7 separate regions of the Homo sapiens genome follow, and regions 1, 2, 3, 4, 6 and 7 are each linked to region 5. The links are contacts of gene promoters, found by promoter capture Hi-C in human tissues and cell types (Jung and others, 2019). All regions are on one chromosome and are shown on one strand. The core of a region is centred on a gene start or on the middle of the fragment in contact, and the rest is flanking DNA. Distances in the headings are between cores, read along the strand shown.

Region 1 (3,783 bases), core at 799-3,298, 300 kb after region 5:
TCAGCTTCCCAAAGTGCAGGGATTATAGGCGTGAGCCGCAGCGCCCGGCCCCTTCGTGTCTTTTCAGGGCCTGGGAGCTCATTTCCTTTCACTCACTGAAGGGCATCTTGGTAGCTTCCATGTCTCAGCATCGGCAATTGTGAATAAGCTGCTTTAACACCGTTGTGCAGGTTTTTGTGTGAACACAAGTTTCCAACTCGTCTGGGTAAATACAAAGAGGTGCATCGTGTAAGATGCTGTCAGCTGCATTTCCTGCTGTAGCCCCAGAGTCCAAACAGCACACGGCAAATGGACACTCAGCAAATCCTGAATTAATACATGAAGAAAGAGGCAGGGCGGCCAGAACAATACACCACGCACAGGGGCTTTGGTGGCAGAAACCAGCTTTCGCACAGTTCTGGAGGCTGGAGGTCGAGACCAAGTTGTTGATGAGCTTGGCTTCTTCCAGGCCTGTGTCCTTGTCTTTGCTGACAGCTGCCTCCGTGCGTGGCCTTGTCCACGTGCACGCACCCTTGGCGGCTCTGTAAGTCCAACTTTTGTTTTCTCTTTTCTTTTCCTTCCTTCCCTTTCTTTCTTTCTTTCTTTCTTTCTTTCTTTCTTTCTTTCTTTCTTTCTTTCTTTCTTTCTTTCTTTCCTTCCTTCCTTCTTTCTTTCTCTCTCTCTTCCTTCCTTCCTTCCTTCCTCTCTCTCTTTCTTTCCTTCCTTCCTTCTTTTTCTCTCTCTCTCTTTCTTTCTTCCTTCCTTCCTCTCTCTCTCTCTTTCTTTCTTTCTTTCTTTTTCTTTGATGGAGTCTTGCTCTGTCACTCAGGCTGGAGTGTGATGACGCGATCTCGGCTCACTGCAACCTCTGCCTCCCGGGTTCAAGTGATTCTTGTGCCTCAGCCTCCCGAGTAGCTGGAATTACAGGCACACACCACCACACCTGGCTAATTTTTGTATTTTAAGTAGAGATGGGGTTTCACTATGTTGGCCAGGCTGGTCTCAAACTCCTGACCTCAGGTGATCCACCCGCCTCTGCCTCCCACAGTGCTGGGATCACAGGCTTGAACCACCGCACCCGGCTGTAAGTCCAAGCTTCCTCCTCTTATAAGGACACCTGTTGGACTGGGTTAGGGCTCCACTCTGATGGCCTCTGTTTAACTTAATTATCTATTTAAAGGCCCTGATTCCAAATACAGTCCCATTCTGAGGTCCCATCCGGACTTCCACATGGGAATCTGTGGGGCAGAATTGACCCCATCACAAGGTTCCTCCTGGAGCCTTCAGAGGGGGTGGCCCTGCCGACACCTTGATTCAGACTGTGGACCCCAGAGATGCGAGAACGTGTTTCTGTGGTTTCAAGCCCTGGGCTATGGGCCTTTGCGTGCAGGGCCACAGGGGCGCAAACCCGCTCTTATCCTCCGGTCCCATATTGCAGATGGGAAGCCAGGGGTCAGCACTGGGTGATGGTCCCACTCCACGACGGGAGCTCCCAGCAGTCTCCTTCCCACCCACTCGGCTCCACGCAGGGCAACGGGAGCTCCTGGCTCCCAGCAATCCCCTTCCCACCCACTCAGTGTCTCGTGCATGGCACACACGTGTCCTGCGGGCCCGCTGGGAGCTGGCTGCTGGTCCCTGTACGAGGCTGGGGGTCTGACCTCACCACCAGGGACAGACAGCAAAGCAGACCATGAGACAGGGGAGCAAAGCCGTGCGGTGGGAGGGGTGAGGCGTGCGGCATGACTGCAGGGCGGGGAGGGCCTCAAGGGGAGAGGCAACTCGGGGCAGCCCGCATGGCCCAGGCGTGGGTCAAGCTCTGGGAGGCACGCTCCCCGCAGGACCAGCCGCACGTGCAAAGCTCCTCCTGCCCCCAGCCCCGGCCAGCATCTCGGAGCCACTGCGGATTCAGTCGTGGGGTCCCTGGAAGGCAAGGCCTTCCCTAATCTGGGCACCGGGGCCTCCCAGGTGGCGACGACAGACTCCCAGGCTGGCTTGAGGCAAAAACACGGCGCGCTGGGACGTATTTGGATGTAAATGTTTTCAGCACAGAGCAGCTGGGAGATGCGGCCTCCGTGGGAGCTGGGAGCCGGGGCCATATGGCCCCTCTCCCGCCTGTACTGCCTTCGAGCGGGGGCGCTGCCTGGTGGGGCCCCCAGGGGTGTCTGCGGGGGTCGGACTTGAGTCCTGCCGGCCCCTCGCTGGCTGCTGCCCGCCCTGCCATCTGTCAGGTGGGGCGAGACCGTGCCAGCTGCCCTGGCCCTGAGGAGGCCTTGAGGGCATCTGAGGGGCTTGGGCCTGGCGCCAGCCCGATGGGTGTGTGCATCTGCAGCCTTGGCAGCATCTGGTAACTTCCCTCTTCCCACTCTTGGCCCTATCCCTGGTTGGGGAAGAGCCAGGTGCTCACCTGCGGCCCTGCATGGTAAACCAGACGGCGGCTCACAGGGTCATCTTGGCAGGGGACCCTCTGGCCACACAGAAGACTCGGAATTCCTGGCTCTTCTCTCCCAGCCCACGGCGGCTCCTTCCAGAGACCCTGAGAGACCCCTGGCACCCTGGGAGATGGGAGCAGAGCTGGGATCTGTCCTGGACGCAAGGGATGCCTCCCCTCTAGAACAAGCACTGGCTCCCCATGTCCCATCAGCTGAAGGCTACATCAGGTTCAGCCCTCACAGCCCTGAGCGAGCTGCCCTCCTGTGCCCTCTCCACAGCTGGGGCTTCCCGGTGGTTCCATACGGAAGCCCCTCCCTCACAACCCACCACCCCCAGCTCCAGTCACCCGTCCTCAGTCATGGTAGTGGGTGATTTGGGCTGTGAGGCCCTGGGGGGTGGCCCAGTGCAGCAGCGGCAGACGGGGCACTGTGGGGGGCTCCACGGGGGTGCTGCTGGGCCCTCTCCAGCTTCAAATGGAAAAACACAGGCCTGCGTGGGGCCCGTCCTGAGGTTCTGGACTGGGTGTGTCAGTCAGTGACGTCATCAGGGACCCTGGCCCGCTCCCTCTCATGCCTTGTCGTGGCCTCTGCCAGGCCCGCTGTCATCCGGCCTGTCGTGGCCTCTGCCCGGCCTGCTGTCATCCGGCTTGTCGTGGCCTCTGCCCGGCCTGCTGTTGTCCGACCTGTTGCCTCATGGTTCCCAGATGGGTGCTGCAGCTCCAAGAGTCACAGCTTCTGACCACTGCGTTCAGGGAAGGAAGAGAAAGAGCCAGGGAGGAAAATCTCTTCCAGAAACCTCATGCAGTTCTCCCCTTTCAGCTGACTGGCTAAGCCGGGTCTCACAGCCGTGTCTGGCTGCCAGGGAGCTGGGAAAGTTCTGTGGGGTCCCTGCCTTTCGGGGGGATAAAGGCAAGGGCTCAGAGGGAACAGAGTTAGCCGTGGCCATGGAAGGAAGAGCAGAGCTTCCTCCAGGCTGAGTGGGGCCGGAACACTGCTGGGCCCAGCTCTAGTCGGCGGGAGGCTGTGTGCTGTGTTGGGGAGCGGATTTGGCACCTGAGTGTGTGCCTCAGTGACAGTACCTGTGCTCTGGGGCTCAGGATGGGGTGACAGGACAGCACCACCCCAGGTGTGGACAGCAGGCTTAGACTGGTGATGAGGGGGCTTGTCCTGGGGAGGGCCTCAGGCAGCTCTGTTAGACCCAAAGTAGGAGAGCTTCTTGCAACGGAGGCCTGGAGCAAATTCACGCCTGCAGAGCGGAGGAGCCCTCCTCTTCCCAGGTGGAACCCCACGTGTACCTCTTCTCCGAGGAGGCTCCTTGGGGAGCTGTGTGGATCCTTCCCACTTTCCCTCCACCTGGGGCTGCCTCTCTCCCCTG
Region 2 (4,246 bases), core at 510-3,009, 440 kb after region 5:
CCTGTTTCTGCTTTCAGTTTTTGCTTCATATATTTTGAAAGTCTGTTGTTTGGTACATTCACATTTATAATGATTGTGTCTTATTGGTGAATTGACTCTTATTAACATTTAATGCTCTGGTAATGCTCTTTGCTCTTAAGTTTACTTTGATATTATTATAGCTATTTTAATTTCTCGGTTGGAGTTTGCATGGTATTTATTGTTCTATCCCTTTACTTCCAACCTACCTGTGTAATTGTATTTGAAGCAAGTTTCTTATACACAGCATACAGTTGGATTATGTGTGTTTTTTAAATCCAGCCTGACAAGCTTTGTAATTGGTATGTTTAGACCATTTACATTTAATGTAATTATTGATGTGCTTGAATTTAAGCCTACCATTTTACTATGTGTTTACTATTGTTCCCTGAGAGTTTTATTGCTCAACTTTACTGCCTTCTTTGAGGTTATTTTTTCATATTCCATTTTAATTTGTCTCTTAAGTTTTTGACCATAAATGTCTTTGCATAGTTTTTTTAGTAGTAGTTCCAGAAACTACAATATACATACTTCCTTTTTTACAGTCTACTTAAAGTCAACATTTTAACACTTCCAGAAGAATGTAGAGCCACATCCCTGCCTCCACATCGGTTACTTACCCTCTGCCTTTAGAGTGTAGTCAGTGTAATACCTGTATTTGTTGTAAACTCCGTTAGACAAAATGGTAATTTTTGCTTTCAACAGTCAAAAATATTTCAGAGAACTTGAGAAGAAAGGAACTCAACTTCATTCATCCAAATATTTGCCACTTCTGTTGCTTTTCCTGTATTCCCAATATACCAAGTCTCCTTCTGATACCAGTTTCTTTCTGTCTGAAGGACATTCTATAGGAATTCTTTTAGATCAGATCTGCTTGCAACAAATTACCTTATTTTTCCTCATCTAAGAATGTCTTTATCTTCCTTCCTGAAGGATATTTTCATTGGATTAGGAATTCTGGGTTGACAACTATTTTCTTTCAGCACTTTAAAAATATGATTCTTGGCTGGATGTGGCAGCTCATGCCTATAGTCCCAGCACTTTGGGAGGCCAAGGTGGGAGTGGATCACCTGAGGTCAAGAATTTGAGACCAGCCTGGCCAACATGGGGAAACCCTGTCTCTACTAAAAATACAAAAATTAGCCAGGCATGGTGGCACACACCTGTAATCCCAGCTACTTGGGAGGCTGAGGCTGGAGGATTGTTTTAACCTGGGAGGTGGAGGTTGCAGTAAGCCGAGATCATGCCATTGCACTCCAGCCTGGGTGACAGAATGAGAGTCTGTCTCAAAAAAATACTACTAATAATATAACTCCACTTCTTTCCGGCCTCCATTGTTTCCGTGGAGAAATCAGTGGGCGCAGGAACCCTTGTTCCTCTCTGTGTGTCAGTGATTGGATTATGATGTGTCTGGGCTTGGACATCTTTTGGTTTGTCCTGTTTGGGATTCTCTCAGCTTCTTTAGTTTATAGGCTTATGTTTTCACCAAATTTTGGGTTTTTAGCCAAATTTTATCAAACGACTTTGTGCACCTAAGTGTTATCTTTTCTTCTGTCACTCCAGTAGCATGAACGTTAGCCCTCTGTGTGTTGACTTTCCTGGTGATTTTTCTCTGCTGTTCAGATTTTGGGTCATTTCTGTTGCTCTGTCTTCAAGTTGTCACGTTCGTTTCTTCATCGTCCTGCTCCTGAACCAATCCATGAGATTCTTTATTTCTGTATTTTTCAGTTTTTAAATTATTGTTTGGTTCTGCTTTATATCTGTTATTTCTTTGTTGAGACTTTCTGTTTTTCCATTTATTTCCAAGTGTTTGCCCTTTCTTTCTTTTTCTTTTTCTTTTTCTTTTTTTTTTTTTTTTTTTTTTTTGAGACAGGGTCTCACTCCGTCACCTAGGCTGAAGTGCAGGGCTGCAGTCTTGGTTCACTGCAATCTCCACCTCAAGCGATCCTCCTACCTCAGCCTCCCAAGTAGCTGGGACTACAAGCACTGACCACCACACCTGGCTAGTTTTTATCTTTTTTGTAGAGACAGGGTTTTGCCATGTTGCCCAGGCTGTTCTCAAACACCCGAGCTCAAGCAGTCTGCCCGCCTCAGCCTCCCAAAGTGTGCCCTTACTTTTTGGAGCATTTTTATAATAGTGCTTTAAAGTCTTTCTCAGATAATTCCAATAACTGTGTTGTCTCAGTGCTGTTGTATTCTTTTTCTATATGAGTTGCTATTTTTCTGGTTTTTTCCCGTGTTGAGTAACTTTGTATTGTACCCTGGATATTTTTAATGTTAGGGATGAGATTCTTGGTCTTGTTGACATTCTGTGAAGATGTTGAGGTGTTTGTTTTACTGTGACTTGGTTGGCTTAACTCTACAAAGTCTGACCCTCCTTCCCTGGGATTGGTCTCATTGTCATTTTATTTGTAGGGCCTTTGCCTTGCTGTCTCTACATGTCCCACAAGTGTACTGACCAGTGGCCAGTCTGACCACGTCAGTGGAGCAGATAAAGGACAGCAGTGGAAAAATTCACGAAATTCAGATAAAGTCCGTGGTTTCTTTGAAAAAACAAACACAAGGCTCTGAGCAGCCAGGAGTTAGGCTGGGCACTGCACGGAAAGCCCCGTCACCATGTGGGGCAGGTGTTTCACCCCCGTGGGTGGCGTCAGCCCCTCCTGGAGGAGCCCAGGCTGGCGGGTTGGCAGCCCCGTCATCATGTGGGGCAGGTGTTTCACCCCCGTGGGTGGCGTCAGCCCCTCCTGGAGGAGCCCAGGCTGGCGGGTTGGCAGCAGGACGACACACTCGGCAGAGGCTGCCATGGGGCAGTGTTGGCCCCACGGCGTTTGAGCGCCCTTTCTCCACATCAGATCAGTGTGTTCTGCTATTTCGCAGCTACTTCCCTGGCCCCTGGTTTTCTGAAGTCCATTCCAGATGGCAGGTGATGAGCCTCAGTGAGACTCTTGTACGCATCCCTTGACCTCCGGGGTCACAGCCAGTCACTTTCACAGTAGAGAAGAGTGAGGGTCGTGGAGCTGGCAGCTGCTCATCTGAAGCCCCTGCTCCTTCTCTGCCCTCCCCAGACCCTCCTGACCTATGAGCCGAGGGCTCGGCCGGTGTCTTCACAGACCCACCGTGTCCAGGGCCTCCCGTGCCATCTGTTCCTGGTGCTGCAGGGACCCCCAGCCCAGGCTCATATAACCCAGCCTCCCTCCCGCCCTCTCCATGGTCACAATAGAAGAACAGTGAGGCTGTGTTTCCTGGGGCCATGGCAGTGCCTGCATGCTTAACAGGGGCCTCCAGGGACCCTCCACCCTCAGGCCCCACCTTCCCTTCCCACGGAGTCTTCCCTCTTGTAATTGGTCACTCAGCCCTGTGGAGGGCGCTGCCCGCTCCAAGCTGCCCCAGCCCCTGTGGGCAAGGTGTGGACAGGTGCCCGCTGCTGTGTTCCCTGGTTTGAGAAACGCCCCCGAAGATGGGATTTGGGCACAGGTTTTAGACGTGGACAGGCTGCCTGAATCCAGCCCAGGCTCTGAGTGCTGAGGCCTGGGCCGGTAACATGCTCAAGTCTAGAGGATGGGGTAGGAGCACGTTCTTCTGTGGCTGTTCTGGGAGGAATGAAAGGACACCCAGCTCCCGGCCAGGGCACCAGGGCCCACAGAGGACGGCGGGAATGCTTAGCTCAGCATGGTTGGCTTCCACCTGTCAAAGCTGCGTTTTCCAAGCATTCCAACAAAGCGCTCAGTTTCAGAAAGCACGCGGCCCTGGGTGGGCCCTGGGTGGGCAGGGAGCAGCCCACAGTTTCAGAAAGCACCAATCCCAAGAGGGTGTGCCCAGCTCTGACCTCCATGTTCTTCATCCTCCACAGGTGACCCCAGGGTTTGAAGAAAAGGAGGGGGAGCTGCTGGTGAGGGGACCCTCCGTGTTTCGAGAATACTGGAATAAACCAGAAGAAACTAAGAGTGCATTCACCCTGGATGGCTGGTTTAAGACAGGTAGGACCCAGCCCCATGGGAGTGGAGGAGACCCCGAGGGGACAGGCAGGAACTCATTGCTGCCCACGTTGAGTGACACCGAGGCTGGGAGTTCCCAGAATTTTCAGCCAAAGGCAGAAGATGGGGTGGAGTGGGGCTGGGGGCCACTGTTACGGCACTGCCTCCTGAGCACCCGGCCTCCCCACCGGCTTCTAGAGTGGGCTCCTTGGCCCTGTCCCTCAGTGCCAGGGGCCCCAGTGCCCCATGACAAG
Region 3 (4,321 bases), core at 1,414-3,913, 260 kb after region 5:
AGATTTAAACATTTTCCTATGTTAAAATTTATTTCCTGGGCTGGATTATCGTTATAATTATTGGTAGTATACAACCGATACAAACAATGTGAATGTATTACACATTTTGAGAACTAATAAGGATACAAAGTAGGCTGGGCTTGGTGGCTCACACCTGTAATCCCAATGCTTTGGGAGGCCAAGGAAGTAGTATCGCTTGAGCCCAGGAGTTCAAGACCAGCCTGGGCAACATAGCAAGACCTCATCTCTACAAATAATAAAAAAGTTAGCCGGGTGTGGTGGTGCGTGCCTGTAGTCCCAGCTACTCAGGGGGCTGAGGCAGTGGGATTGCTTGAGCCCAAGAGGTTAAGGCTGCAGGGAGCTATGATCACGCTACTGCACTCTAGCCTGGGTGATGGAACGAGACCCTGTCTCAAAAATAAAAATAAAGATACAAAGTAAATTTTTGTTGGAAGACATCTCGTAAAAGGAGGGAGGGGCACTTTTTGGTAGTAGTTTGTGTATTCATGCATGAATAATACTGCCAGAAAAAGACAGGATTTGACATTAATTCCATTCCCGTGGTGGGTGTTTAATGTGAAAGCCAGAGAATCTTCAGTCCCATAAATAACTCGATCAGAACGGGAGCTGTGTCCTAACCATCTCACTGTGACCTCCTTCTGAGAGTCAGATGCCGCAAGCCACGTGGTGATTGGTCATCAAAGTCATTTTTAATAACTATCAGCTGACAAATCGGTTCTGTCCCCCCTCAATTCTGTTTCATGCAAAGACAAGAAATCAGCAGGTTGCAGCAGAGACACATTCGTGGCGAGTGGGGAGCTGGGGGCAAGGCACCAGGCTGGCCCCAGGCAGAGAGACGTTGGTCTTTCTTGGGGAACTGGGAGAGGGTGACTGTGCAGGGGTAGCTGGGAAAAGGACCCACACTGGCCCAAGCAGGTTCTGCCTTGGCCGTCAGCCTGGGCCGTCTGGTGTGGGCACCAGATGACGCGGCTTCAAGTTGCCCACAAGGTCAAGGAGACCCTCCCGGAGGCAGGGAGGAACCCTAAAGCAGAGGGAGTCCGGGCTCCGGACAGGAGGCTTCCCTGCCTCAGGAGTGTCTCTTGGCTTTCTCCCCTGACTCACATCGGCATCGCTGCTTTTGCAGAATGAGGTTCCTAATTGTGAAGTGGCTTCATTCACGTATTCATTTCTTTCTTCCTTCACTCTCCATATCCAATAGAAAGCAAGTTACTGAAGCTTGCCAAACCTCAGTTTTTCCTGTAAAACGGGGCTAAGAGCTGGCTGGCCTACACATTTGCAATGTGGCTCAAAGACAAGTTCAGAGTTCTCTCTTGTCTTTGTTGAAGTTCACACGAGAACCAGGCCAAGCACAAACAGTTGGAAATCGGAAGTGTCCCGTAGGAAAAGCAGCCGGTGCTCGTGTGTAAAAGGGAATGTGGATGGGATTGAGGTGGCATTTAAAATCCCTGGAGAAGCACAAACTCCCCAGTAGATGGTGTCAGGACAACTGCCCCATGTGGGGAAAATGAATTATATACTCCTTACTTCACTTGGAAAAATAAACTCCACTTGGGTTAAAGAATAAAATGTGAAAAACTGGAACAGTGAAAGGATTAGGAGAAAAAAGCAGAGCAATTTATATAATACCAGTTTAAAATTAAGGCAGCCGAGAAACTCTGAAAAAATTTTAAGAAGCTGGAGGGGTTTGGCCGTGTAGGCATGAGCAACTTCCATGTCCTGAAAGAGACAGGGGACCCCGATAAGAGATGGGTTGGGAGGCCGGGCGCGGCGCCTCACACCTGTAATCCCAGCACTTCGGGAGGCCGAGGAGGGCAGATCACTTGAGGTCAGCAGTTCAAAACCAGCCTGGCCAACATGGCGAAACCCTATCTCCACCAAAAATACAAAAATTAGCCAGGTGTGATGGTGTGTGCCTGTAGTCCCAGCTATTCGGGAGGCTGAAGCAGGAGAATCACTTGAACCCGGGAGGCGGAGGTTGCAGTGAGCTGAAATCGAGTCACCTGCACTCCAGCCCGGGTGACAGAGCGAGACTCTGTCTCAAAAAAAAAAAAAAGAAAAAGAAAGAAGATGGGCTGGGAGTGGGTGTGGGGACAAACGACAGTGGCCCCAGCACACAAACATTGCTACAGAGAAGAACAATACAAGCACTCAAAATAACGCTCAACAAACTTCATGAGTAGGCAAATCCCACAAGAAGAAAACAAAAGGGACCAGACACAGTAGCTCACGCCTGTAATCCCAGCACTTTGGGAGGCCGAGGCAGGCAGACCACTTAGGGTCAGGAGTTCAAGACCAGCCTGGCCGACATGGCGAAACCCCGTCTCTACTAAAACACAAAAATTAGCTGGGCGTGGTGGTGGGTGCCTGTAATCCCAGCTATTGGGGAGGCTGAGGCAGGAGAATCACTTGAACCCGGGAGGCAGAGTTGCAATGAGCCAAAATGGTGCCACTGCACTCCAGCGTGGGTGACAGAGATTCTGTCTGAAAAAAAAGAAAAGAAAACGAAGGAACGAAAACCCCCGCCACTCTCGAAGTCACACGGCTTCCCTGCTTCTCTTCCTCATGACTGGCCCCCTCTCCTCCTCTCCCGTCTCTCTTCACCTCTCTTTATCTGGATCTGTCTCTGCTTGTTCTGCGTTTCCCTGTTCTCCAGGGCAGGAACCACATCGGTCTGTTCACCCCTCCCCTGGACCGGCACCGCCACAGAGGGTCAGAGTGTTGGCACCTGTCTTCCAGGTCTGTTCACCCGTCCCCTGGACCGGCACCGCCACAGAGGGTCAGAGTGTTGGCACCTGTCTTCCGGGTCAGTTCACCCGTCCCCTGGACCGGCACCGCCACAGAGGGTCAGAGTGTTGGCACCTGTCTTCCGGGTCAGTTCACCCGTCCCCTGGACCGGCACCGGCACAGAGGGTCAGAGTGTTGGCACCTGTCTTCCGGATCTGTTCACCCCTCCCCCGGACCGGCACCGCCACAGAGGGTCAGGAGTGTTGGCACCTGTCTTCCGGGTCAGTTCACCCGTCCCCTGGACCGGCACCGCCACAGAGGGTCAGGAGTGTTGGCACCTGTCTTCCGGATCTGTTCACCCGTCCCCTGGACCGGCACCGCCACAGAGGGTCAGAGTGTTGGCACCTGTCTTCCGGATCTGTTCACCCGTCCCCTGGACCGGCACCGCCACAGAGGGTCAGAGTGTTGGCACCTGTCTTCCGGATCTGTTCACCCGTCCCCTGGACCGGCACCGCCACAGAGGGTCAGAGTGTTGGCACCTGTCTTCCGGATCTGTTCACCCGTCCCCTGGACCGGCACCGCCACAGAGGGTCAGAGTGTTGGCACCTGTCTTCCGGATCTGTTCACCCCTCCCCTGGATCGGCACCGGCACAGAGGGTCAGAGTGTTGGCACCTGTCTTCCGGATCTGTTCACCCGTCCCCTGGACCGGCACCGCCACAGAGGGTCAGAGTGTTGGCACCTGTCTTCCGGATCTGTTCACCCCTCGCCTGGACCGGCACCGGCACAGAGGGTCAGAGTGTTGGCACCTGTCTTCCGGATCTGTTCACCCCTCCCCTGGACCGGCACCGCCACAGAGGGTCAGAGTGTTGGCACCTGTCTTCCGGATCTGTTCACCCCTCCCCTGGATCGGCACCGGCACAGAGGGTCAGAGTGTTGGCACCTGTCTTCCGGATCTGTTCACCCGTCCCCTGGACCGGCACCGGCACAGAGGGTCAGAGTGTTGGCACCTGTCTTCCGGGTCTGTTCACCCGTCCCCTGGACTGGCACCAGCACAGAGGGTCGAGTGTTGGCACCTGTCTTCTGGGTCTCCATCCCTCCCTTTGTTTGTTGAGTGACTGCATGTTCTCATTTCCTTATCATACAATTCTTTGAGAGGTATCATTAGCTGCGTCTTATTTTATTTTCACCTTCTTTTCTGTTACCTGTATGTTTGAATTTTCCTATAAGTATTTTTGTTTCATCTTTGCTTTTTTAAATTAAAAAATCAGTTTTAAAATTGCACCTGCAGTACAAAATCAGGGTGGCGACCGGGTTGCTGCCATTCCCTCCCCTCGGGTCTGTGGCTTCTCAGCTCCAGCTCGGGTCACAGACCTGCTGCCACGGCCCCAGGGTGGGCACAGGGCTAGCAGGACAGTCATGCAGGCAGCCGCGGCCCCAGCGATTGGTCCAGGAGGAGGGCAGGTGACCACACGCGGCCAATCACAATCCTTCCCTGGGAGTTTTTGAACTGGAACAAGAGAGGAAGGACCTCTTCTTTGATCTGCGTGGGAGGCAAGCCCAGAGTGGCCTGGACAG
Region 4 (3,783 bases), core at 549-3,048, 410 kb after region 5:
AACAGGGGGTGGTTTTGGGGGTCTCTTCACTCTGCACAGCCTGGCTGCCTGCAGTTGTTCTGCTGGTTGTTTCAGCCCACGTCTCTCTGGCTAGAGGCTGTCCTCCAATGTCTGCTAATCCCTGACTGCTCCTGCTTCCCACCTGCCACTATGATGCTGACCAGAGCCGAGGCACAGATGGGACCCCTGCTCATAGGATGACTGGGCCATTTCTCGGAGACTGCACCCTCCCCCCACTGCCACCCTCACAGAGCCATGGCCAAGGACCACGGGAGCTGTCACCCTGTCCCAAGTCCTGTCTCTAGGTGGGTGACGCAGCCTGAGCTCTTCAACTTCCCAGGGATAGAAATTTGCGCACACACGTCCTGGGGCTGAATCCTGATGTTAGACGCCCTCCTTACTCTTCCTACTGCCCTCGTCGGAAACACCATTCAGCCTGCTGAGTCCTGGAAGCAGACAGAATTCTGACACCAGATCAAGCCTGTCCCAGTGGCAGAGGGTTGGACTTGCTTTTTCTGCATGATACCTAGCAGGGTGGCAACCAGAGGCACTAGAAGTTTGGGTTTGTTCTCCCACGCTCTGTGTTACAAACTTCCCCCAGATCCAGCTCCTTCCTCCCAGGAAAACCATCCTCGGGCTCCTGAAGTGCCCTTTCCTGAGCTTTCCAAGGACACAACTGCTGCCCCAGCAATCATCACAAGAGAGGAAGATGGGCATGGAAAATAATACACTTACAAAAAAACTGTGCAAGGTTCTGCAGATAATTTTTTTTTTTTTTTGAGACAGTCTCACTCTGCTGCCCAGGCTGGAGTGCAGTGGCGCAATCTCAGCTCACTGCAGTCGCCACCTCCCAGGCTCAAGAGATTCTCCTGCCTCAGCCTCCCGAGTAACTGGGATTACAGGCACCTGCCACCACTCCCGGCTAATTTTTGTATTTTTAGGAGAGACAGGGTTTCACCATGTTGGTCAGGCTGGTCTTGAACTCCTGACCTCGTGATCTGCCTACCTCGGCCTCCCAAAGTGCTGGGATTACAGGCGTGAGCCATCACACCAGGACGGTTCTGCAGATAATTTGTACTACTGTTTGCCAGTACATGTCTTTGTGTTATTAGTATTCATTTTAGGGGAAAAACCCTCAAATTTCAGCCAACTGGACTTTGTGTTTGGCTTTAAATGTTTTCCGCCACTGTCCATCCAACAGTCTCGCTTCATATTCGTATCCTGGTTCCCAAGTCCCTTCGAGGAGAGATTCTCAAATGCGGTCCGTTTAAAATCACCCAAGAAATACAAAAATTAGACAGGCATGATGGCGGGCGCCTGTAGTCCCAGCTAATTGGGAGGTTGAGGCAGGAGAATCACTTGAACCCGGGAGGCGGAGGTTGCGGTGAGCCGAGATCACACCACTGCACTCTAGTCTGGGCGACAGAGCGAGACTCCATCTCAAAATAATAATAATAATAAGAAAAAGTAACAACAATAATAATAATAATAAAATCACCCAGGAGCTCAGCGTGCAGACCCCCAGCCGCAAAGCCCAGAGAGCCCCTTTTGGGAGGACGGGGCGAGGCCCAGCAATCCGCGTTGGGAGTGGTCCCGCGCGCCGTTCTGATCTGGGCAGCCCTGGGCTAGCGGAGACCACGGCGCCTTGCCTCGGCCACGGCTCACGAGACGCCCGCGGCCCCGACCCCGCCACGACGGGACGGGCGGGACAGGGGAACACGCGCGCCCGGAACCCGCCGCCACGGCGCCGCGCCGGGGGGACGCGCTTGGGCGACGGACGCGCCGCGCCGGGGAAGCTGTTGGGCGCCGGAACTGGTCCGGCCCGACTCACGACCCCGCGGGACCCGGCCGGAACCCGGCCCGACCCCGGCGCGCGCGCGGCGGAGGACGAGGAAGAGTTGTGGCGAGGCAGATCCTGCCCCGTGGCCGCGGCCGTCTCGTAGGTGCGGGCGGCGGGGCCCACGGGACCGCGGCGGGGTCGGCCGGGCGCAGAGCTCTCGGGGGCGCGGGCTCCGGCGCCCGCCCCTGGGTCGCAGCTGGGCTTGAGCCGTGGCCCGTGGCGCGGTCGCTTCCCCGCGAGCCGCCTGGGGCCGGGCGTCGGCCTTCCCGGGACGCCGAGCCTCTCGTGTCCGGTGGGGAGCGGGGCCCCCGCGCGGGGTGCGGGGAGAGAAGCTGTGCGGACGCCGGGCCCGGTGATACCGTCGAGCCGGCGGGGTCCGTGTTCAGGCATCCTCAGAACGAATCGTCTTTGGTTGTGTTTGGAATAAATTCACTTCCATTTCTCATTGGGCTTCAGAAGTCACCCTTGAAGTACTCCCCGTTTTAGTTGTTTGCTGCGTGCACCTTGCTGGGCGCGTGGGGCACAGGTTCACAGCCGGCCTAGCCCCTGAGGGCATGTAGATCTATGAGCAAGCAATGGAGACGTGCGGCCGGCCGTGAAGTATTTGGAAGGTACTGCAGGCAGCCCATTCCCTGGAGAGAGGGAAGGTTTAAAGGGGTGAGGCCCGGTGCAGTCAGGAGTTGATGTTGCTGTCCTGAGTCTAAATTCCACCAGGCAGGCCAGGTGCAGTGGCTCATGCCTGTAATCCCAGCGCTTTGGGCAGCAGAGGCAGGAGGATCACTTGTGGCCAGGAGTTCAAAGCCAGCCTGGGCAACATGGTGAGACCCCTATCTCTACAAAAAAATGTAAAAATTAGCTGGGTGTGGTGGCGTACACCTGCACTTCCAGCTACTGGTTAGGCTGAGGCACGAGGATTTCTTGAGCCCAGGAATCGGAGGCTGCAGTGAGCCATGACAGCACCATTGCACTCCAGCCTAGGTGGCAGAGCAAGACACTGTCTCAATAAATAATAAAACTGAAAAAGAAGAGGTGATATTTGAACTGGGCTTGGAAGAATGATTAGGAATTTGCTAGAAAGGGAACACGTTTAGAGATAGGAACACGAATTGTGTCTGGGGCATAGTTGTTGCTTTCCCATCCTGGGAGGACAGACATTCGTGTTAGGGCCCAAGGCTGAGACCTTGTTGAGGAGGGGGTTCACATGGTGGACCCAGGAGCACGGGTGTTACTACCGGTGGACCCTGGGGACCCTGCGAGCTTTGTAGCGTGAAGCCTGGCTCAGGCTGGTGTCCTCTCCGCAGGTGTTGGAGGACATAAGATGAGGCTTCCCTTGCTCTTGCTCCTTTGGCTCTGAACCATCTCCTCAAGGCAGACAGAAATGGCGGATTAAACTGTGGGCTTGGGATAGTTGTAAGTGTCACCTTTCCAGATGGCATTTTTAAAATAGTATTTTTCTTCCTAAAATGGATATGGGTTTCAAGTGTATTTTTCCTTTTTGGTTTTTTTTATTTGAATGTACTGCTCATGAATGCAATGTGAATGTCTGTTACTTAAAAATGTAATTTTGAAAATAACCCTCCAAACCACAGGTGTGATGCTGAAACGCATCCTGCCCCGCAGGCCGAGCACAGCCCTCCTCTGCCCCACGCTCTCATCGGGGCAGCCGACAGGAGGAAGTGCCGGCATCCACTTCAAACACAAGGTCTGGGGGGGCGGGGGTGTCAGGTGTGGTGGTGAACAGGTCAGGTGTCGTTTTATTCATGTTGAAAGCAGCCCTTCATTTGAATGCGAGTGTCATTCTCATCTAGTAATTTTTGTTGCGAGGCTCCATGGGGAGCACCCTGCTGAGCACGGCGCGGCCGTTTGTCTTCTGCCTGGCCTGTGCCGGGCCATTCGTACATTCTCACGTGAAGCCTGTGAGGCAGGTCTTGTTACTGTGCCAT
Region 5 (4,066 bases), core at 649-3,148:
CCTCAGCCTCCTGAGTATCTGGGATTATAGGCACCCGCCAGCACACCGGGGTAACTTCTGTATTTTTAGTAGGGACGGGGTTTCGCCATGTTGGCTGGTTTCGAACTCCTGACCTCAAGTGATCTGCCGTCCTCGACCTCCCAAAGTGCTGAGATTACAGGCATGAGCCGCCACACCCAGCTGAAGAGACTGTTTAAGTACCTTGCTGGCTTCAGGGGTTCCCTGGGGAGCCATAGGAGCCATTTATTTAAAAGGAGAGATTGAGGGGCCCCAAATCCCAGCACCTCAGGTCTATCCTGGGGTAACATCTTGGCAGAAAGTTGCCAGGGCCCCCTGGCTGTCAGAAAGCCAGGCAGCTGGGGCTACAGTGAGGAGGGGAGCGGGGGCGGGGAGCAGAGAGCACTGCGGGGCAGCACGGCTACTCACGACAGTTGCCCACTGGGCCCAGCACAGCTACCCAGATTTGCACACTGGGATGGACCCTAAGCAACACTTTGAAACTTGCAACTATTACCCATGTAAATTCCGCACACATGTGTAGTCACATGCGCATCCACATACACATAACAGAAGCCAGTGTCCTTCACCATGAGCCAGGCACTCCGGCAGTTTCTGCTCTATTTTATTTTACAAAATTGCTGGGGGTGACTGATGAAACTGATTTCAAAATGCACATTTGAAAAGCATGGTCCTAGCTGGCACCCCCTGGTGGCAGCCCGGGCCTCGGGTGTGGGTCCAGGTGGGATCCCCCCCATCCCCAACTCTGGGTTCTGAGCTGGGATAAAGGCCTCTTGGCGGTGTTGCTGGGGGCCACAGCCCCAACAGCGCCCTTCCTGCTCTCCCCCACCGGCCACAGAGCGTGAGTCCCGACCACCGCGTCCGCCGGCGCCCCTCAGTGGGCCTTTGTCCCAAGAAGCTGCCAAGCCAGGTGGGGACTGCTCTCACCGCCCGTGTGGCAGGCTGTCCTCTGAAGGACAGAGTCCTCTTCTCTCGTGTCCCTAAGCCTAGCAGGCAGTGGGAATGAACGGGCAGCCCGGTTGCTGGGCACCCATCTCCCCAGCCTAGCCGGTGTGTGGAGGATTGCAGCCCTTTAGCCCAGCCTGCCCAGGCAAGCCTGCCGGGGTGAGCAGGAGGGCTTCTGGGGTGAAGGGAGGTGGGGGAGGGAGGGAGACCACGGGCGGAGGCTCACCTGAACTGAATGCAGGAGGGGCAGTGCCTTTGCACCAGAAAGAGCCCATGTGTCCTTCTCACCATCCCCTGTGCTTACACCCCCAGTCAGCATGCTCCGGGGGTCCCTGAGCCGGGCCGCCCCAGACGGCCCTCCTTCCCTCCCACCCACCACCCCGCGACCCCTCCCAAACGTGTGCGCCAGGAAGATGACTCCAGGGTGCCTTTAGCTGGGGCTGTAGTGGTTGGGACGGGCGGCTGTATATCAGGGGTGAGTTCCAGGGAGACTTGGGGGCTTAGAAAACTTAGAAAACTTCTCCAAGTTGGGAGAGAATCCCGCCCGCCCTGCCGGAGGCGGGGCTCAGTGCCCTGAAGTGGAGGCGCCCGTGGGCCACCTCCCTCCCTGCAGCCGCAGCCGCTGCGCAGAGGCGCTGGCTCCTTCTCCTCCCACCTGGGACAGGTGTCTCCCCAGCCCCCGCTCCCAGGGGCCTCTCTCTCTCTCCCGCCCCTCAGGGTCGAGTCCCGGCAGGGGCTCGGGGATCGGGTAGTCAGTACCTCTCTGCGTCTCCAGCCGCCGGTAGTTGGGGACCCTGTGGCTGGAGTGCGTTTTCACCAGGAAGGAGCGCGGCATGTTCCCCTCCCGGGCGGCAGGCCGGGGTGGGCTGGGGCGGGAGGGGCGCGCCTGGGTCCGGACTGCTGCGTCCGCCGGCGCTTGAAGGGGTCAGGCTCATTAGCATAGCGCGCCGCCTCCGCCAACCAGCGCCCGGCGCGAGTGGGGCGGGGCCACGGGGGCGGAACTGAGGGCGAGGCGGGGTCTCGGGCAACACGCCCAGGACAGGTGCGCGGGCGGGACGGGGCGGGGAGCGCGTGGCCGCCGGTGTCCTCCCCACGGGAATTCTCTGGCGTGCGCGCCGCCGAGTCACACACCGACCCGTCGGGCCTGGCCACCCACTCGCCGTGAGTGAAGGGCAGAGTTCAAAGCTGTGTGGAAACCGAGCGAGAATCTCTTCCACAGAATGTGGAAGCGTCGGCCGAGCGCGGTCCTTGGAGAACCCTTGCTGCGGAGAATGACGCTCACTCTGCGGCCTGGCCTCGCCTCCCCATCCCTTCTGCAAACTCACAGGACAGGATTGATGGGGAGAGCCCAGGCGAAACGAAGCTGACCCTAGTGACCAGCCCTACTGGCGGCTCTGGAACAGGCCCGGGACCGGTGGCCTGGAGACAGTGGTCCTTTCTGGATGGGCTGCAGTCTCCGAAGGCTTCCCCCACTGGAGTCAGCCCTTTAGGAGTTTGTCCAGTGCCTCCAGAAAGCTGTTTTTTGGGGGACGGAGGACTTGGCCTGGAATTCTGGAATTCCCAGGGGGTCAGACATGGTTATGGGAAGTTTAATAAAACCGGTGAATCACGTGAATTCTGCAACAGCTGCACGTGTGACCTGGGCAATCCGTTTCCCTCCTTTGTGGTCCTGTAGAGCCCTCAGGGTCATAAAAAGCTGGGAGCCGCTGTGTCCAGTGTCTGGGTCTCTTTTGACATGGACATTTCATAACGTTGGGGGCCAGGTGGGGCCGTCTCTGGGCTGGCGTGCACACAGGGTGTCCCTGGCTGTGCCGCCGGCCTGCCTCCCCAGCAGGGCTTCCACCTCAGAGCTGGGTGGCCTTTGCCCCCTGTGGGCCGGGGGTGGAGAAGGTGGGGGGTGGTGAGTCCATGGAAGCTCTGAGGGACAGACAGCAGGGAGGAGGGCCGTGCCACACCAGCATCCCACGTCCCACATCACACGTCCAGGGTGTGAAAAGCTGGGCTAGTATCAGCCCCACTTTGCCAATGAAAAAAAACTAGGCTGTGAGTCTGGGCTCAGCAGCTCACGCCTGTAATCCCAGCACTGTGGGAGGCTGAGACAAGAGGACTGCTTGAGCCCAGGAGTTTGAGACCAGCCTGAAAAACAACATGAGACCCCGTCTCTACAAAAAAAAAAAAAAAAATTATTTTAATTAGCCAGGCGTGGCAACACCCATCTTCAGTCCCAGCTACTCAGGACGCTGAGGAGGGAGGATTGCTTGTTGCAGTAGCCTCCAGGAGGTGGAGGCTGCTGTGAGCTATGATGACCCCACTGCACTCCAGTCTGGACAACAGAGCAAGACCCTGTCTCAAAAAATTAAAAAAAAACAAAAAAGAAGACCAAGGCTGTGAGAGGTTAGGACACAGTGGGATTGGGACCCAGCCACACTCCAGCTTGTCTGCCACTTGGTGAGGGGGAGTGGAAGGACAGGTGGAGGTGCCCCTGGAAGAAGGTGCCCGCCTCTCCTGCAAGCATGGCCTGGCACCACCACGCCGGGAGTGTAGATTTCAGAGGACACATGCCTGCCTTCTGCTTATTCACCTGTTCCTCGCCTGGAAAGGTTTCTATTTATAGCCTCCCTTCCTTCTCTCTCTCCCTCGCAGACACAGATAACGCTTGCAGATACCTGAGCCAAGCCTCCACCCACACCGTCCCTCCCCGCCCACCTACCCGTTGTGTGGCCACCCGCCAAGCCCCAGCAAGCTTATCTCCTAATCCCAGCTAGAGCCTGGTGTTACTCAGGGCTGCTGTAGCCCTCCCGAGGAGAATGGCTGATCTCATCCCGGGAACGCCCTAGAGGGCCTGCGAGCACCTTTGGGGTGGGGTCCCAGGGCTGCCGCAACAACTTGCCCCCCAGGGACACTCAAGTCGGCTGCAGACTCACTCTTCAGCTGTGATGCACAGGGCGGTGTCCAGGCTGGACCCAAGAAGGCCCCACAGAGGGAAACATCAGCGTCCCCCTTCCCACAGGTGCAGCCTCGGGGGTGGGGATTGGGGGAGGGCGGCCGTCTCCATCCTTTCCGTGTCTTCCGTTCCTCACTGCCGGCAGCTTGGCTCTGGGGG
Region 6 (4,190 bases), core at 1-2,500, 430 kb after region 5:
AACTGTGTGTTCTCACCTTTAATCTGCCTTTTGAAATTTATTTTGGATCTTCTGGGTCCTTTGCCTTTTCGTGTAAAACGTAGGATAAGTGTATCAATTTCTGCAAAATAAAGCTTGCCGGAATTTTGGGAAGATTGCTTTGAAGCTGGAGCTCAGTGTGGGAAGAACTGCCATCTTCACAACATGGAGTGTTCCCGTCTGCGAGCCTGGCCTCTCTCCACCCGCTTATCTGTTCCCCTCCCTCCCTCGATGGCAGTGTTGTGGGTGCTGCTCCGCGGTGCTGCTGTCTCCCGCACTCTGGTCGCCTGTGTCTTTGCTTTCCCGTCTGTGGGTCAGCCTAGATCACCCCCGTTGACTGTGTCTGACTTTTTTCCTCTTTTCTGCTGCGTCTTGTTTGTTATTAGGTCTATTGAATGAATTCATTTTGGATCTTGTGTTTTTCAGTTTTATGATTTTTTGCAGTTCCACTTCTCTTTGCAATTCTCCATCTTCCCCACGTTGTTCATCTTTTCTTTGAAATTCCTTAATCTGCTTATTGCAGTGATTTGAAGGGCCTTGTCTGGTGATTCGGACGTTTGGATTTCCTGAGACTTCTTCCCTTCAGTTGGGGATCACATCTTTGTGTCCTTACATGCTTTGTGACTTTGAAGGGTTCCAGTCTTTGTCTTTGAAAGAATGATATTATTTCTTCCCCGGAGATTCCTGCCTTTCTCTGCCAGGCAGCTGCGGTGAGGCACTCGTCACTGCAGTCCAGTGAGGAGATGAGATGGGCTGGGGCTGGACTGTGGCATCGGCATCCGTCGACCCCAGTTTCAACGCCGTGTGGGCGAGATCTGTCCTGTGTGTCCTGGGCCTCCCTTAGGTGCTGACCCCACAGCACGAAGAGTGCCCTCCTCCCTCCGCCACACCCTTCGGTGCTCCGTGTGGAACACCGCGGGTAGAGAGGGCCATGGAAGGAATGCGGCTCACCAGCTCTTCCTGAAGCTTTATGGGCGACGCGAGAACCCGCTAACGAGTGAGGAACTTAAAACGTATTTATATGTAAGCAAGAAATGTTTATTATGGAGTAAAATATAAAATTCACATGACTCTTTTAAATAAAAGACTTCACCCGTTCGCTAGTCACTGCATGCCTGTCCATACTGGGAAGCATGCTGACTTCAGGTCTGCGGGCAGCCAGGCCCTCCTGCCAGCTTCCCCAAGGTGTACATCCGCCCTCTCTGTGTAGCTGGAAGAGCCTGACCACTCACGTCTCTCCAGGCCACAGATCCCGAAGCCCTTTTCTAGCTCTGTTCACGATTGCTCTTCCCCTCACAGGCCAGACGCAGCTGTCCCGCGCAACATGGCTTCTGTGGGAAGGGGTCAGAGTTTGAGGCACCCCTTTTAGAAGGGAGGCGCTGCAGACTCTTGAATGTGAACCATGAGAACGCTGTGCCTGGAGCCAGGAGCCTCCGCCACGGGCCCCAGTGCCTGCTCATCTTCCTACCGAGTGCTTCCTTTCCTTCGTAGGTTTGGGAAAAGTTCTTAAGTTCTGAAACGCCGCGGATCAATGTCTTTATGGCAGTGCCTACAATATACACCAAGCTGATGGAGTACTACGACAGGCATTTTACCCAGCCGCACGCCCAGGATTTCTTGCGTGCAGTTTGTGAAGAAAAAATTAGGTAAGTGAAAAGAGCCCACTTTCTCGTTCAGAAAGTCTTAAAGATCAACAGATACGACTTATTTCTAATAAATCACTCCTACTAAGTTCTGGGAAGCAGTGCTTTCCATTTCCTTTCAATGTTCCCTCTCTCTCTACCCGTCTCCGTCTCTACCTCTCTAACTGTCTCTCTCTCTCTCTACCCGTCTGTATGTATATCTGTAATCTCTTCCACGTCGATAGCTGCCTGGATTCTGTATCGCTCTCTCTGTCACACTCTGTCTCTCTATCTCTCTCTGTCTCTCTTTGTCTCTCTCTCTCCATCTCTCCATCTATCTGTCTTCTCTGTCTCTCTTGTCAGACTCTCCATCTCTGTCTTCTCTCTGTCTCTCTCCATCGCTCTTCATCTGTCTCTCCGTCTTCTCTTTCTCTATCTCTCCTGTCTCTCCATCTGTCTCTATCTCTCCATCTGTCTTTGTCTCCGTCTGTCTGTCTGCTCTCTCTCCTGTCCGTCTCTCTCTCTCTCTGTCATGGCGTCTGAAGGACAAGGGTGAGGACAGTGAGCTGACCCGCTTGCTCCTGCTTCATCTGCCCACATGTCCCACGGCGCCTGCCTCTCCTATGCAGTCTCTCTGCCTTCGTGGGCAGCCCTGTGAGGCCTCCTGCCTGGGGCACGTTCTGCTGCTTTTCCTCTCAGCCCCGCTCCTCCCCTCCCAGCTCCCTGGATAAACCCCTCCCTCCCAGGACAAGCTGGTCTTTTGGGCCACCCAGGGGCGTGTTTGCTCTGCACTCTCCCATGAACCTGCAGGCGTGGGAACGTTTCTTTTCCCTCGTGGCTGTTGAGGTGTGGTTCACTAACTGGAAACGCACACGTGTGGCTCAGTGAGTCTTCACACGCATCACAGGCCCGCACCTCCAGCAGAGTCGTGGGTGGGGTATTTTTTCTTTTTGTGAGAGGGAGGGGTGGCGTGGAGGGTGCACTGCAGGAACTGAAGGCTCCACTGCCATCCAGTTTCCAGTGGGATGTGTGTGTCTGTGGCTGCCGCGCGCTCCTCCCAGTCCCCAGGAAGTGCACAGGGAAGCGGCACCTTTGTTCCTGGAGAGAATTCCGGGTTGTCCAAGGCACATGTCTGAACCGCTTCGCTCTCTTTGCCGTTCCCTTGCCCCTTTTCTGTGAGGCCACCGGAGCCCATGGTTTTGCTGCTGCTACTGCTGGGATACCCTGGGGCTGGGCAGGCCCCAAGCTGAGCAGGGTGAGCACAACGTTTTACCAAATCTAAGGAACCAAGGGCAAGAACGAGGTCAGTGAAGGAGAGGATCAGGTGATTTCTGGGGTGACAGAGGCAATGAGACCTCGGCCATCTGGATCTCCCAGCGGGGGTCCTGTCAGTGGTGCCTCCTCGTAAAGCAGGGGCAGCAGCAGGGACCACTCCGCTCAGACCGCAAACAAAAGCGCCTTCCCTACTGCCCGTGAGGCTGCGGGAAATGCTGTGTGAGAGCGCGGGGACTCGGAGTTCTCAGGGCCCGTGTTCTCCTGCCAAGCCTGAGCTGACCCTGTGGGCCAAGATGGCTGCAGTTCTGCGGGTGGTTCTGAGCCCCTTGGGTGTGCCCGGCCCCACCCCTTGGGTGCCGCGGCCATTCACCCATGTCCGCGTTCTGCTGCAGAGCCTGCAAGCTGAGCCGGCTGTAGTCCCCGGATGTGCCTGGCCGCAGCCTGCAGCGCCGTGGCTGTTCACCCGTGATCAGCTCCGTGGTCGGCAGCTGCACGGTCACTGCTGTTCTTGAGCGTGGTTGTGAACAGCGCAGGAACTTTGCAGGGGACACCGCGGACCCTAAGCACATTGTTTACCCTCATTAGCTGTTGGACCTGCTTCCTTCTAAAATACACCCAACAGATCGTTTTCAAAAAACAAAGTCACGCCGTAGCGCAGACTGCAGCGTTGGTCCCGGGTGTCGCACAGTGGTGCTGTACCCACGGCCTGGGGCTCCTGCACTCGTGAAGGAGCTGCCACTTTTGCAAGCAAGGGCCGCCTCCTGAGGGGCTAAACCTGCCACCTTTGCACGCGAGAGCCACGTCCCAAGGGGCTAAACCTGCCTTTGGTTGTGCCGCGTAGGCTGATGGTCTCAGGCTCAGCTGCCCTGCCCCTCCCAGTGCTGGAGAAGTGGAAGAACATCACGGGCCACACCCTGCTGGAGCGGTATGGCATGACCGAGATCGGCATGGCTCTGTCCGGGCCCCTGACCACTGCCGTGCGCCTGCCAGGTACGAGCACTTCCCACAGCTGCGTTCCTCTTCCACTGTGCTCTGAGCCCCCCAAGGTGGGCCAGTCTCGAACCACCCACATTCGGACTGAAGGGCGGCATGGAGGATGCTCCCCCGTGGGACAGGCCACTCGGCCAGGAGAGCACTCAGGATGCACTGCGACCTGTCCCCTCTGGGTAGATCAGCCTTCTCCCAAGTCTCAGTCGGGTGGATGGGGGAGGTGTCTGTGCTGGCCCCTGGCTGTATGACTGGGGAGACAATGGGAAGAACAGCAATGCCTGGAAT
Region 7 (4,141 bases), core at 1,286-3,785, 280 kb after region 5:
CTGGGGAGGGGCTCAGTAGGGAGGGGCGGGAAGCACCTGGCAGTTTCAGTTTCGCCAGGAAGCGGCTGCCTGCTGTCTCCCTTCCCACCCGCCGCCCGGAGAGCCCCCCAGGTGGGGACGGCCCCTTGCACTGCAGACGAGGAAGCCCCAGCTGAGGGGCCGCAGGACAAGCCTCACGGCTCCTGGCAGTGGGGACAGAGCCAGGCCCAGCCTCAGCTGCGTCTCAGGAGGACCTGGGGTGGGAGAAGCCCCTGGGGGCCGAGAGCAGATGAGGGCAGATCTGACTGGCATCTTCTGTCACCTGCTGGTGACCTTTTAGAACACGTGGTCCCAACCCTTGGTCTAGAATATGCTGCCGTGTTGGAGGGGCAGAAGCAGCTGAGACGGCTGTCCGTCCCCCGCCTGTCAGTCCGTCTGTCTGGGGCTGGGGGTGTCAGGACAACACCCACCACTGCAGGCCCCCTTGGGAATAAGCGGCAAGAAGCTTCGGGGTCCAGTTTGCACCGAGCCCCTCCAGCGGGGACGCCTCTTTCATTTCTGCACCCTGCGCCTGGCACGGAGGGGTGTGCGGTCAGCGGGTGGGGGCTGATTGGGTGACTTGCAGTGACAGGGTGGCGAGGCCCTGGACCTGAGTGCCATGTGACCCCCATGGACCATAACCCCTCTGAGCTCCAGGGTCTGCAGCGCTGCAGGCCTCACACAAATCGGGGGCCAGGAGCCTAAGATCTGCTCTCTAAATCTGGGAGCCCAGCCAGAGCAAGCCCTCAGCAGACCCAGCCCCAGTGTGCGGCCTGGTGCCCCCGTTTTGAGGAATCCCCCATCCTCTCGTGAGCAGTCGGCTGGGTCAGGCTGGCTCCACCGGCTCTGGGATTCGGCTGCAGCCTGGCCCGGATGCCGCCGGGGTCACCGCCATCTGGAGTGAGGGGCTGCAGCGGACACGGCTGGAGGGACGGTTGCAAGGTCCCCTCCCCCACTCTGTCCCCCTCAGGTCTGTGAAGTCGGGACTTTCTAGACACTCAAAACACACCTGGACTTGGGAGCTCAGGAGGAAGCTCCGGGAGCCCACAGGGTGGGGTGAATTCTCCAGTTCCTTCTCTACTGGGCTCCCTCCCGGCTGGTGCCTCCTGGCCTTGGCAGGGGTGGGAGGCCTGGTGTCTGCAGGGCCAGCTGCGGGGGTCGCAAGAGCGGGGCCCCTTGGGAAGGAGTGCCAGGAAGAGGGTCTTTCCTCACCAAATCCCACCCCAGCCTTCAGGAGGGGCTCGCCGCCACCCCGTTTTACAAACAGGAGACAGGCTGGGGTCAGCGTGGCCGGTGGACAGCAGTTTCCATTCCCACCATGGTCGGGTCCAGCCACTGCCCCTCACAGACCAGGGAGCCGAGGGAGAGGGGGGCGGGGCCGGCCTGACGACGCACAGACCTCAGCACCGCCCGTGGGGCTGCATCTTGCAGGCTCAGGGCAGCAGGCCAGGCTTGGCTGCCAGGGTGCGAGTGGCAGGTGCCGGGGGGCAGGTGCTGGGGCTCCCGGTGGGCCCTACTAGAGGGCACCGTGGACCCGGTCCAGTTAGGGTGAGCATGGCCTGGGGGGTTGCGATTTGGCAGAGCCCCCGATCTTCTGCAAGGCTGTGGGTTCACCCCATCCCCCTCCACAGGGGCCTCCCAAAATGAGCCCCAGAAGCTGTGGCTGTTGGAGGCTTCTGCCATGTCTTCTCAGGAGGGCATGCCTTCTGGCCCCACTCCTCCCAGGGAGAAAGCCACACTTGGGGCCCTCACCCCAGGAGTCCTCGTCTCCACAAAGGGGGCGCCTGGAAAAGCTGATGGAAATTCACGTCAGTGGGAGGCAGGCCTGGGGGAGGGGTTGGCCCACTCTCCAAAAGCTGCCAGTGAAACGGCTGCTCTGCAGCTGTCCTGGGCCGAGAGAGGATTTCACTCCAGGAGGCGGTGGCGGCGGCCCCAAGCCGGCAGCCTTGCTGTGTGATCAGCTGGGTGTCAGGATGTGCTTGATCCAGGGGTCGGCGACGCGGGTGTCAGGCAGCACCTGCGTGGGGCTTCCTCAGGTGAAGCAAGGAGACGGAGAGGTGGGTTCGGAGGGGCTCAGCTGAGGGCGCGGCTCTCGTCTCAGAGCAGGGCGTGCAGTGGGGTCCCTCTCCTGAGATGCGACCTCAGCTGCCTTGCCTCTGGGAGGGTCCCTGGCAGAGATGCACAGCCTGGGAGGACGTGGCCCACCCCAGCCCCGCTGTGTGAGCTCGGCTGGTTTCCTGACCTTTCTGATTTGTGTCCTCATCTGAGGTCAGCGATGCCCTTGAAGTGTTGCCGGGTGAAAGCCGGGAAGGGATTGCCGTCTGCCCCTTCCCTCCGGGGCCACAGGGCCTGAGTTCCTGGGAAAACTGTGGAGCCAGTCCCTGCCTCAGCACCAGCAGGATGCACACAGCCAAGTAACAACTGAAGGACCAGGAGCACGGAGGCCTCGCCTCGCCTGGAGATGGAATAGACTCACGCCTTCCAGGGCTCAGCACCCTCCTGGGCCAGCACCGTCTGCTGAGGGCCCTGCTGCAAGCAGGCACCAGAGCCCCTGTCTCGTGCAGCCGACGCTGGGGGCCGGGGGATGAGTAGTACGTAAGGGGGCAGCTGGTTTTTCTCATGGGGTGACAGATTGAAGGAGAGGAACACCGAGGGAAGGAGGTCGGTCGGGAGGGGGCTCCTCGGCGAGGGCATAGCACAGGCACGGGCTCGGGAGGCTTGTGGAGCCGCCAGGCAGCCGGGGCTGTGAGTGCCGGAGGCCGACGCGGTGGGGTCGGGCCGGGAGGGCTGGGCCGTGGGTGTGCGCAGGTGTGATGTGGCTGACGTGTTTTCATCAACTCAATTTTCCTTTTTTTTTAAAGACACGGTCTCCCTCTGTCATCCAGGCTGGAGTGCAGGGGCGCAATCTTGGCTCACTGCAACCTCTGCCTCCTGGGTTCACACGATTCTCCCGCCTCAGCCTCCCGAGTAGCTGGGATTACAAGCACCCACTACCACACTCAGCTAATTTTTGTATATTTACTAGAGGCAGGGTTTTGCCATGTTGGCCAGACTGGTCTCGGAATCCTGGCCTCAAGTGATCCGCCTGCCTCGGCCTCCCAAAGTGCTAGGATTACAGGCATGAGTCACGGCACCTGGCCTTGATTTTTCAAATGACATGGTGACCCAGCCACTCTCTGCCCACCTGAGAGAGCTGCCTGGGGCCTGGGGTGGGCAGAGCTGGGAGAGGAAGCCCCTCGGTGGGGTCCCCGCTGTGGACCTGTGTCCTGGGCAACTGCCCGACAGGCCTGGGAGCGGCCGTCCTGGGGGTGGACTTGGGGGTTTTGTGCTGAGAACTTCATTGGCGCCTGCTGCAGGCCGGCCTCTGGCTTTGTAACAGTCGACCTGAGTGACCCAGTCCACAGCTCCCAGCTGGAGTTCCTTCAAAGGGTGGGTGGGCGGCCCTCAGACAGGCCTCTCTTTTCCCTGCTTCTCTCCAGCTGCCCCTGGCCGACGTCTCCTCGGAGGAGCACTGGCCGGCGAGTCCTGGCTCAGCTGTGACCAATCGGCCTCTCCCTGAGGCCGCTCTTCCTGCCTGCGCCTCCCCGGTCAACTGCAGTCACGGAAGTGAAAGTGCCGGAAAACCCCTGCCCAGCGCCCAGGCAGGTTAACGGGACGCACTGCTTCTCGGTCCACATGTGGTGAGAAGTGAAAGTTGTCTTCGCCTAAAGAGTGGCCTCCTAGAGCCGCCCCCATGGGGCCACTTCCTCCAGGAAGCTGGCCCGGATTGCACCCTGACCCTAGGCACCGCCCCTGTCTTCCTAGGTGCTGATTCAAGGTCTTTCTGCTGGACAGGAGGACATGGCTGGTTGCTGTCCTTGTGTGTGGGGATGGGCTGGTATGGGGAAGGAGCGGAGCATTCCAGCAGCCACTGAGGCCTCAGGGAAGCAGTGCCACGCTTACTGGGGAGGGAGGGAGGGAGGTGCACTTATGGGACCTGGAAAGCTGGCTGCACCTGGCAGTGAGGACGTGCCCAGAGCCCCTGCTCCCTGCTCTGTGCCAGTGGAGCCTCCGGTGGGGAGATAGTTGGGGGGGAGTCAGGCTTTGTCCCACCGTCCACTCTCCTGAGGACTTCCTGCCTCTG

The links. The method cuts DNA at HindIII sites, captures the fragments that hold promoters and counts their contacts. A contact is called where the count stands out against the background at its distance.
Region 1: a contact is called between a fragment that was not itself captured here and the fragment with the promoter of SNAI3 in region 5, in 4 of the 25 tissues and cell types used here (lymphoblastoid cells, mesendoderm cells, ovary and 1 more).
Region 2: a contact is called between a fragment that was not itself captured here and the fragment with the promoter of SNAI3 in region 5, in 6 of the 25 tissues and cell types used here (H1 embryonic stem cells, bladder, dorsolateral prefrontal cortex and 3 more).
Region 3: a fragment that was not itself captured here is called in contact with the fragment with the promoter of SNAI3 in region 5 in 1 of the 25 tissues and cell types used here (spleen).
Region 4: a contact is called between the fragment with the promoter of ACSF3 here and the fragment with the promoter of SNAI3 in region 5, in 1 of the 25 tissues and cell types used here (dorsolateral prefrontal cortex).
Region 6: a fragment that was not itself captured here is called in contact with the fragment with the promoter of SNAI3 in region 5 in 1 of the 25 tissues and cell types used here (lymphoblastoid cells).
Region 7: a fragment that was not itself captured here is called in contact with the fragment with the promoter of SNAI3 in region 5 in 2 of the 25 tissues and cell types used here (liver and spleen).

What each region holds. Positions count from the first base shown.
Region 1 is chr16:88,987,457-88,991,239 of GRCh38, forward strand. No RefSeq gene overlaps it. Among named protein-coding and RNA genes, the nearest start is that of CBFA2T3, 12 kb to the left of the region's middle. RefSeq lists an enhancer at 3,533-3,783. The HindIII fragment of the contact is 5,289 bases long and covers 1-3,783 here.
Region 2 is chr16:89,129,268-89,133,513 of GRCh38, forward strand. It overlaps ACSF3 (acyl-CoA synthetase family member 3), which reads left to right. Exons shown (of 11, transcript NM_001243279.3): 8 at 3,869-3,995. Among named protein-coding and RNA genes, the nearest start is that of LINC00304, 28 kb to the right of the region's middle. The HindIII fragment of the contact is 8,026 bases long and covers 1-4,246 here.
Region 3 is chr16:88,947,500-88,951,820 of GRCh38, forward strand. The region is part of intron 1 of CBFA2T3 (CBFA2/RUNX1 partner transcriptional co-repressor 3); the gene reads right to left. LOC100129697 (a long non-coding RNA gene) reads left to right here. Exons shown (of 2, transcript NR_168285.1): 2 at 2,758-4,321. Among named protein-coding and RNA genes, the nearest start is that of CBFA2T3, 28 kb to the right of the region's middle. The HindIII fragment of the contact is 6,684 bases long and covers 1-4,321 here.
Region 4 is chr16:89,092,054-89,095,836 of GRCh38, forward strand. ACSF3 (acyl-CoA synthetase family member 3) reads left to right here and starts at 1,799. Exons shown (of 11, transcript NM_001243279.3): 1 at 1,799-1,943. RefSeq lists a silencer at 1,563-1,972 and an enhancer at 2,393-2,582. The HindIII fragment of the contact is 24,302 bases long and covers 1-3,783 here.
Region 5 is chr16:88,684,609-88,688,674 of GRCh38, forward strand. It overlaps SNAI3 (snail family transcriptional repressor 3), which reads right to left and starts at 1,899. Exons shown (of 3, transcript NM_178310.4): 1 at 1,723-1,899. The coding sequence starts at 1,798. SNAI3-AS1 (SNAI3 antisense RNA 1) reads left to right here. Exons shown (of 4, transcript NR_024399.1): 4 at 2,183-2,578. RefSeq lists silencers at 1,510-1,669, 1,720-2,179. The HindIII fragment of the contact is 11,241 bases long and covers 1-4,066 here.
Region 6 is chr16:89,110,583-89,114,772 of GRCh38, forward strand. ACSF3 (acyl-CoA synthetase family member 3) reads left to right here. Exons shown (of 11, transcript NM_001243279.3): 5 at 1,510-1,664; 6 at 3,757-3,905. Among named protein-coding and RNA genes, the nearest start is that of ACSF3, 19 kb to the left of the region's middle. RefSeq lists enhancers at 3,385-4,190, 3,784-3,883 and a silencer at 3,979-4,190. The HindIII fragment of the contact is 3,569 bases long and covers 1-3,035 here.
Region 7 is chr16:88,968,252-88,972,392 of GRCh38, forward strand. The region is part of intron 1 of CBFA2T3 (CBFA2/RUNX1 partner transcriptional co-repressor 3); the gene reads right to left. Among named protein-coding and RNA genes, the nearest start is that of CBFA2T3, 6.9 kb to the right of the region's middle. RefSeq lists enhancers at 762-1,617, 3,510-3,649. The HindIII fragment of the contact is 4,840 bases long and covers 116-4,141 here.